3 separate regions of the Homo sapiens genome follow, and all the other regions are linked to region 2. Evidence: promoter capture Hi-C in 16 types of primary human blood cells and fetal thymus (Javierre and others, 2016). All regions are on one chromosome and are shown on one strand. The core of a region is centred on a gene start or on the middle of the fragment in contact, and the rest is flanking DNA. Distances in the headings are between cores, read along the strand shown. Region 1 has its middle 4.7 kb from the start of CABLES1. Region 2 holds the start of SLC35D4 (solute carrier family 35 member D4). Region 3 has its middle 21 kb from the start of CABLES1.

Region 1 (3,015 bases), core at 17-2,516, 310 kb before region 2:
TTTGGAGAGCTTATTGAATGGACCATTCCATTCCCAATGCCTCCCCTTCTCCTCCATGATTGGCTGAGCTGCATGGAAGGGAGACTTTTGATGACTCAGAGGAAACTTGAAGAATAAATGCATTTGCACTATTGTTTTTGGATATATACTCTAAAAAGACAGTGGAGATGAGGAAGGGTTATCTGGAACATTGACACTTCTTCCCAGATTGACGAGGTACTTACATCCATTCTTGGCTTGAACTATTGTCCTTGATAATGAGTGACACATGTTTATATGACCATCCCTACAGTCCCAAGGACATGCCCCATCGCCTATTTCTCTCGGCTTCTCACACAAGTTATAAAAGCTGGAAGGAACTGCAGTAAAATATCACTCTTCCTCTTTCTTCCACATAGTGTCAGAGGTCCAGAGACAAAAAGAATCCTGTCTGGGCCTATGATACGACAGTATCAGGGGCTGCTGGTGCCAATCATTGAGAGAAGGGCAGGTTCTCGGGCAGGAAGAGGAGACTTGAAGGACAGAACTTTGGCAGGAAGTAGCAGGGACACCATGTCCCCTTGGCATTTTCTCCTGTGTAGGGAGAAGAGGGTGTCCTAGATGGCTGGCCCTGGGGACAAAAGTTGAAAAAGCCTCTATTCTAGGGGGTAGGCTGGGGACCAGTTGAACTCTGTGCATACAGCTCTTTTTTTTTTTTTTTTTTTTTGAGACGGAGTCTTACTCTGTCGCCCAGGCTGGAGTGCAGTGGCGTGATCTCAGCCCACTGCAACCTCCACCTCCCAGGTTTAAGCGATTCTCCTGCCTCAGCCTCCTGAGCAGCTGGGATTACAGGCACGCGTCACCACGCCCAGCTAATTTTTGTATTTTTAGTAGAGACGGGGGTTTCACCATGTTGGTCAGGCTGGTCTCGAACTCCCAAACTCATGATCCGCCCACCTCCGCCTCCCAGAATGCTGGGATTACAGGCACGAGCCACCGCGCCTAGCCAGGATTTAACTTTCATTGGATTAAGGAAAGCAGCAGGTTTCTCAGGGAGACTATGCCTGTTAGATCGACAGTCCAGTGCCAGCCTGTACTTTCATGGAAAATACCGTAAAATAATCTGATTTAAGCAGGAGCTAACAGCTGAAGCTTCTCATGTTCCTGCCTGGAAAGGCATGCTAATATTTCACTGGTCTCAGGATCAGTGAAAACTATAAAAACCTAGAACCTAAAATATTCTGGCCTTTTTAATGTTCACCTTCTGTATTTTGCATTTTTCTAATAATAGCTACCCACTGAACTACAGGTACTCTGCTAGTTACATAATTTATATTGTTGGTAACCCTCACAACCCTGCAAGGTAAAATATTGCAAAACCTACCTTCATCCATAGATAAGGTAGGTGAGGCCACCAAGGAACAAAGCTTGTAATATCCACAAACTGGAGACCTTACAAGGTCGCATGTTTCTAGGAGCCTAAGCTAATTTTCAGACTTCTCAGTCTGCTGAATTATTTTTTTGAAGGGCCAGTGATTACATGTAGGTTGTTTTTTCCTTTCTTTTTAAAAACTAACCTCCAATATGTCTCCATCAAAACAGTACATGCATTTTGAATTCATGTGTGCTACAAAGTTTCAGAATGGGCACTTGAAAGGGGCAATATAAAAGGGAAGGGGGAGAAGGGGGAACGTGGCTGACCAAGTAGAATCACGTTTCAAGTTCTAGTCCTCCAGGCCTGCTATGCATGAGGAATTTGTATGCCAAACTTCCTCTTCTGCAAGGATCCTCCTCCTGGCCTCCTGAATCTCCTAGATCAGCTCAAATCCTGGCTCTTGCCTAAGGCCTTCCCCCACACTGCAAATAAAAAACTTCTTTTCCGGTCGGCCTGTAATCCCAGCACTTTGGGAGGCCGAGGCAGGCGGATCACGAGGTCAGGAGATCGGGACCATCCTGGCTAACACGGTGAAACCCCATCTCTACTAAAAATACAAAAAATTAGCTGGGCGTGATGGCGGGCGCCTGTAGTCCCAGCTACTCGGGAGGCTGAGGCAGGAGAATGGCGTGAACCTGGGAGGTGGAGCTTGCAGTGAGCCGAGATTGTGCCACTGCACTCCATCCTGGGCGACAGAGCGAGACTCCGTCTCAAAAAAAAAAACAAAAAACTTCTTTTCCATATTCTGATAATGCTTATAGTCCAGTTGCGCATTTGAAACTTAATCAGGGTTGGCTTTGCATTTTCATTTAAATGTGTTTTCCATGGTTGTAACTATCAAGGTCACAAGGGCTAAGGGCCACATTTCTTTTTATCCCTTTGTCACAGATGGTACTGTGGATGTAGAAGTTGCTTGGTAAAACTTGATCAATGACTAAGTAGTTGAAAAATAAATGAATTTGGAATAATTCAGGGACTAAGTAGATTAGGATGGTATAAATAACAACGGACATTTTAAAAAGTACTTTAAAGTTTGTAAAATGTTCCTCAGGTAGTCTCATTTGTACCTAACAATAACCCACAGAGAAAACTAACTCAGAGAGGGTAAGTAGCTTGCTCTTGAAACCCAGATCCTCTTACTCCAAAGCTTGTATTATTCCGTAATAGTTGACCTCAAGTATGGATGTAAGAGTAAATCTGGACACTATTCTCTACCATTAAACATCTTCACCAGCAGAGGGCGCAAGAAGATGCATGGGTCTTCGAGTCAGGTTTGTATACTGGCCCACCCCAGCTAAGAGGTAGATGAGTCGGGGCAAATTATTTAATTCTTCTGAGCCTCGTCTGTAAAATATCGATGATAATGCTCTCACCAACACCACAGGGTGGTTATAAAGATTAGAAATACTCTGTGGCTGGCATACAGTAGGTGAACAATAAACCATATCTCAAGATCCCCAAAAGGGGGTCACAGAGGCAGTTTGGAGATTAGACATTGATTCTTGTTTGATGCTTTAATAAATATTTGAAATTCGTTTCATACTTCACACTTACAGTAGACAAAAGGTTATAGAAAATGAAGGTTATAAAAAATGCATACT
Region 2 (2,700 bases), core at 102-2,601:
TGGTGAAACCCCGTCTCTACTAAAAATACAAAAATTAGCCCAGCGTGGTGGCGCACACCTGTAGCCCCAGCTACTCACGAGGCTGAGGCAGGAGAATCGCTTGAACCCAGGAGGCAGAGGTTGCAGTGAGCCGAGATCACGTCACTGCACTCCAGCCTGGGTGACAGAGCGAGACTCTATCTCAAAAAAATAAAAATAAAAATCAACTGGAGAAGGAAAGGGGGTTGGGGAGCATCCTCTGAATATATAAAGGCAGCCATTCATTGTAGGAGAGGAGGTAGAAGGAAATGCTGTTTGTCGATGGTTCTTTTCCAGAGAGGAAGAGAGGAGAAAGGAAGAGCGGGGAGCAGGTGGGGAGCCCGCAGTAAGACCCCACAGTGGGGCCAGGTGGTCTTGCACCCTGTATTCCCACTTTGGCTGGGGCCAGCCCAGAGTCCAGGCCAGCAGGTAATGCCCCAGCCATGCCCACTCGGTCCTATTGGATCCAACCTTTCCCTGCGTGGTACCAAACCTAAAGCCAGCTTCCCTCTCCTTGCAAAACAAAACCCCAAAGCTGGCACCACTGCTTCTCTGCCTCCTCACCAAAAGGTTTTCATGATGTCATGACATTAGTTTAAACCTAAAACTAAATGTATGTTTTATTTTAAAAAATAATAATTCCATGAAAAACTCCTGAAGTGCTTACAATGGAGACGTACAAAAAAATTGATTCGGGAATCAGCAGTGTGAGGGGGAGACGGCTTAATCTCTTCTATTTAAAGGCTTCTGGAACTTCACGGGGGCTCTGGGACAGGGGCGTGTTTAGAAAAAAGGCAGGATGTGTCAGATTTCTTCTGACTCTTCCTCCCCGGGGGAGCAGGAGCCAATTGCTTGCTTTCTCTTAAAACTAGTCCACACAGCCCCAAACCAAGTTCCCGGGAAATGGCCAGCCCAAAAATCCTGTTTCCCTGGAGATGTACCGTGCTTTACAGTGCAGGAAACGGGGACAGTACAGGCTGGCAAATCCTATTTCTGAAAGAGCATCCCACACACGGAGGAGGTTCGCTCTCCATCTCCATCGCCACCAGGAAGAATGAGGTAAAAAGCAGGAGGAGGCTCCGTTTGTCACGGGAAGATTCTCCGACTCAAACCTCCCACGTGCAATCGCTGCCTCCCGCGCCCGCCCCCTCACCTTGTTCGTGAGGTAAGAAGCCAGGTAGCAGGTACAAAAGGTGAGGCCGACCAGAGACCTCCTCACGCACATCTGTCAACTCGTCCCCTTCTCGGGGATCCACGGTGCCTGCCCAAATCCCCTGGCCGCCGCCCGACCCCCGCAGCAGCAGCAGCGGCAGCGGCAGCAGCCGCCCAGAGACGGCCACGTGGCTCCGAGCTCCGCCAATCAGCGCGGGGACCGCCCCCGGCGTCTGCCTTCTTAAAGGGGCCGCGCCCTCGAAGGACGGTCATTCTTCTTTTATTTTTTATTTTTTATTTTTTTATCTTCTTTTAAAGAGTAGAAAGTGGCAGAAGAGGAAAAAAGCATACCGCAGTTCACAATACCCCATCAGTGTTTAAAGAAAAATGTTCATCGCTATCTCTAAACTATGAGACCAAAATATTACCCGTGCTTCACTGAATTTTCCCAATTTTCTCCACTGAGTCTGTAGCGCTTTGGCAAATGACACAAAAAAGGTAACAGCAACAAATGTTCACTTAAAAGAGGGAAGGTGAAGGAAGAAGGAACTGGAATTGAGTATAGGTTTTTTGAGTTTTGTTTGTATTTAAAGTCATTCCATTCTCTTGACATTTCTATAAAATAAGAACCCTTTCCCAAGCACAGCCCCTATTCCTATTCCTATTCCTAGTCTATAGGGTGGAAAACTGGACTCATGAGGCTTCCGGCAAATGTTAGTAAACATGCAAGAAAACCTATTGATGGACTTGGACAATAGCAAAAAGTGCCAGTGTTCTCTGCCTGTAGAAACACACAGATTTTCAGAAACACCCACACACGGGGAAACCATCACTCTTAAGCCACAGCAAAAGTCCTCCTGGCTCTCGGTGCTGGAGCAGTGGATGGAAAACGACACACCAACCCTTATGTAATTTTTCTGTTTTTCAGAAGCATGCCTTGTTTCTCTCTGCTCCCTCCAGCATTGAGGGAGGGCTGACCTCGGCTTGTCCCCTTGAAGCCACTCCCCAGCCACCACTGTCTCATCGCAGTCCTTTGCCTCTGCTCACTTTTCCACAGGTCTCTTCCTGGGCCTGCTGGTTGGTCTGCAGAGGGGACCAACATAGAGATGGAGGTAGGCTGGTCACCCCTTCCCTCCCTTTTCTCCCACAGTCTCCTTCAAACCACTTGTACAGATGGGTATAGCTTTCTCTACCAAGACTGGATGATATGGTTTGGCTGTGTCCCCAAATCTCATCTTGAATGGTAGCTTTCATAATTCCCACATGTTATGGGAAGGACCTGGTGGCAGATAATTGAATCATGGGGGCAGTTTCCCCCATATTCGTCTCGTGGTAGTGAATAAGTCTCCCCAGAGCTGATGGTCTTATAAGGGGAAACCCCTTTCGCTTGGCTCTCATTTTTTCTCTCTTGCCTGCCACCATGTAAGACGTGCCTTTTGCCTTCCACCATGATTATGAAGCCTCCCCAGCCCCGTGGAACTGTGAGTCCATTAAACCTCTTTTTCTTTATAAATTACCAAGTCTCGGGTA
Region 3 (2,700 bases), core at 182-2,681, 320 kb before region 2:
GTCCTGGACTGGCCTGGGGACACTCAACATTTGGAGACTGAGAGGAGGAGGGTCAGTGGGCAGAGGGAAACCTGGAGCAAAAGACACTTCTTGCAGTGACTGCTACTTCCTGCTGAAGTTCCTTAGGGAATGGGGTCAGGATAGGTTCCTCTCTCCTTTCCCCATTGTGTGTATATGTGTCTGTGTGGTAAAATATACATAGCATGACATTTACCATCTTAGCAATTTTTTATTTTATTTTGTGAGACAGAGTCTCACTCTGTCGCCCAGGCTGGAGTGCAGTGGTGCAATCTCAGCTCACTGCAACCTCCGCCTCCTGGGTTCAAACGATTCTCCTGCCTCAGCCTCCTGAGTAGCTGGGACTAGCTAATTAGCCACCACACCTAGCTAATTTTTATATTTTTAGTAGAGACAGGGTTTCACCATGTTCGCCAGGCTGGTCTCAAATTCCTGACCTCAGGTGATCTGCACACCTCAGCCTCCCAAAGTGCTGGGATTATAGGAGTGAGTCCCTGAGCCCGCCACCATCTTAGCAATTTTTAAGGTACAGTTAGTTGAGTGGCATTAAGTACATTCACATTGTTGTGCAACCATCACTACCACCCATCTCCATAGCTCTTTTCATCTTGTAAAACTGAAATTGTACGTTAAACACTAACTCCCCTTCCCTCCTCCCCCCAGCCCCTGGCTACCACCACTCTGTCTCTATGATTCTGATGACTCTAAGTACCTCATACAAGTGGAATCACAGTGTATTTGTCTTTCCATGACTGGCTTACTTCACTTAGCATAATGTCCTCAAGACAGGACAGGTCTTGCCTCAGCTGCAAGCTGGTGCCAGAACCAGCCATCCCTGGTTCTGGGACGTCCATGGGCATGGCCTGGGGGCTCACTTGAGCAAAATTCCATGGCCCCACGAAGACAACCAGAGTCCCCCGTACCTCTCCATCCCGCACAGGCTCAGTCTTCCAAAACACTGCGGTGTGGGAGGGGGTTGCCTCAGTCCAGTCAAAACCCATTTTTTTAGAAAACCATTTATGCCGCTTCTTTAAGAGCTAAAGAATCCTCCAATTTACTCAACTCTAAAAAAAACCTTAACACCCAAACAGTAGCATCTGGACATAAATTTAACTAGATTTCAGAGTTTTCTCTAAGAATAGTTGGTGAATGTTGCTTTACGTCTTGGAGAATTTCCTAAACTAAGAGAGTCCAAAGATAAGGATTATTTCACTTCCAGGAAACAAAACTGCCATTTAGGTCCCTAAATGGCAGATCCCAGGTAACAGTACAAAACAAGTCTCTCTTTACAAAGCCCCTGCTATTGTAGTTAAAATAAACAGTCCATGTGTTAGAGTTGGAAATTCTATTGTTATATAGATATCTTGCTGAAATGGGTTCTGACCCCTACAAAGAGTTCTCAAGAATGAAACACGTGATGTTCCTTTAATGTTGTTTTTGCTCATGCAAATGACATCCTATTACACCCACGGATGCTTAACTACTAAGTTAAAACAACTACATGGCAATTTTGATCACTCCAGAGTCCCCTCACTGTTTTGTGGTTTTATGTAATTCGCATATTGTGTACAAAAAGACTTGACCTGGAGCCGGCAGCAAGAAATGTGTAATTAGAAACACTTCCCGAGGAAATTAGGTGACAAGTGAAGGCTTGAGGATTTCCGAGGGAGCCTGGAGCTGCAGATATTCATTATGGGTACTTAAGAGGCACAGCTGCCTCTGCTGAAAACCATGTCAAATGCCGTCCGCTGGATGCCAGCGTGGAGGCCAGCCCAGAGCCAGAGATGGTGGCTATGGCAACACGCTACTCCATTTTTAAACTTTTCATTACCTAAAAGGAAATTGCTTAGGCTGTTTTTCTTTTTTTCCTTTTTCTCCCTACCAATTTCAGAGTTTGTACCAGCAGTGAATAGCCTCCAGGTCTAACATTTCCTGGGTAATGAGTGACTAGCTGGGTGAAGTGCTTTTGGCCTTACCTCCAGCCTTGGCAACTCCAGCCAGTTATTAATTGCTGCACCGGGAAACACTTTCCAATCAAGCTATTATTTAATCAAAATAAAAGAAAACGAACTATTATTGCTGTCAACAGCAATGAGCAACTCTCCGCAGGAGTCTAAATGGGAACTGTGGAGGTTTTCACTGGAAGAAGTGTTCCTCTGGGGGTCAGATAAGCAGGGCAACGTGAAGTTGCGTGGAGTACCCTTGGGAACTGGTTCTTGTGGGAGGAGAGAATGTTGAACCAGCAGGAAGACGCAGAGAGATTACACACACCCTGTCCTAGATCTCAGTCATTCATGGTCAGTTAACCTGTAACCTTGCTGTTAAGCCAGTGCCCCAAATGCTTCTGTGGGAGTGTCTGCAGGGGAAAAGACAGTCCATAGAAGCATTTGGGCTGCTTCTATAAGCAATAAATAGTAAAACCTGTAACCACCATAATAACCACACTTCCTGAGTACCCCCAATGTGCCAGGCAGGCACTGTGCCCCCAGGTTTATACTCAGATCTCAAGAGTTCCCCACATTGCCACTGTGGGGAGAGTATAGTCACGATCCCTCTTTCACAGGGACACTGAGTCCGAGAGAGATGAACTTGGCCAAGACCCACCACACCCTGGTGTGAATAGCAGAGCCGGGGCTTGACTTCTAGTCTCTGCATCGAGCAGTTGCTTTTTTTTTTTCTTTA

The links. The method cuts DNA at HindIII sites, captures the fragments that hold promoters and counts their contacts. A CHiCAGO score of 5 or more calls a contact.
Region 1: a fragment that was not itself captured here is called in contact with the fragment with the promoter of SLC35D4 in region 2 in 15 of 17 cell types (total B cells, non-activated CD4 T cells, naive B cells and 12 more); the score reaches 11.0 in total B cells.
Region 3: a fragment that was not itself captured here is called in contact with the fragment with the promoter of SLC35D4 in region 2 in 1 of 17 cell types (non-activated CD4 T cells); the score reaches 5.4 in non-activated CD4 T cells.

What each region holds. Positions count from the first base shown.
Region 1 is chr18:23,129,252-23,132,266 of GRCh38, forward strand. No RefSeq gene overlaps it. Among named protein-coding and RNA genes, the nearest start is that of CABLES1, 4.7 kb to the right of the region's middle. RefSeq lists a silencer at 2,474-2,768. The HindIII fragment of the contact is 275 bases long and covers 1,130-1,404 here.
Region 2 is chr18:23,436,610-23,439,309 of GRCh38, forward strand. SLC35D4 (solute carrier family 35 member D4) reads right to left here and starts at 1,352. Exons shown (of 15, transcript NM_032933.6): 1 at 1,172-1,352. The coding sequence starts at 1,243. RefSeq lists a silencer at 1,381-1,480. The HindIII fragment of the contact is 5,255 bases long and covers 1-2,700 here.
Region 3 is chr18:23,112,856-23,115,555 of GRCh38, forward strand. No RefSeq gene overlaps it. Among named protein-coding and RNA genes, the nearest start is that of CABLES1, 21 kb to the right of the region's middle. The HindIII fragment of the contact is 5,021 bases long and covers 1-2,700 here.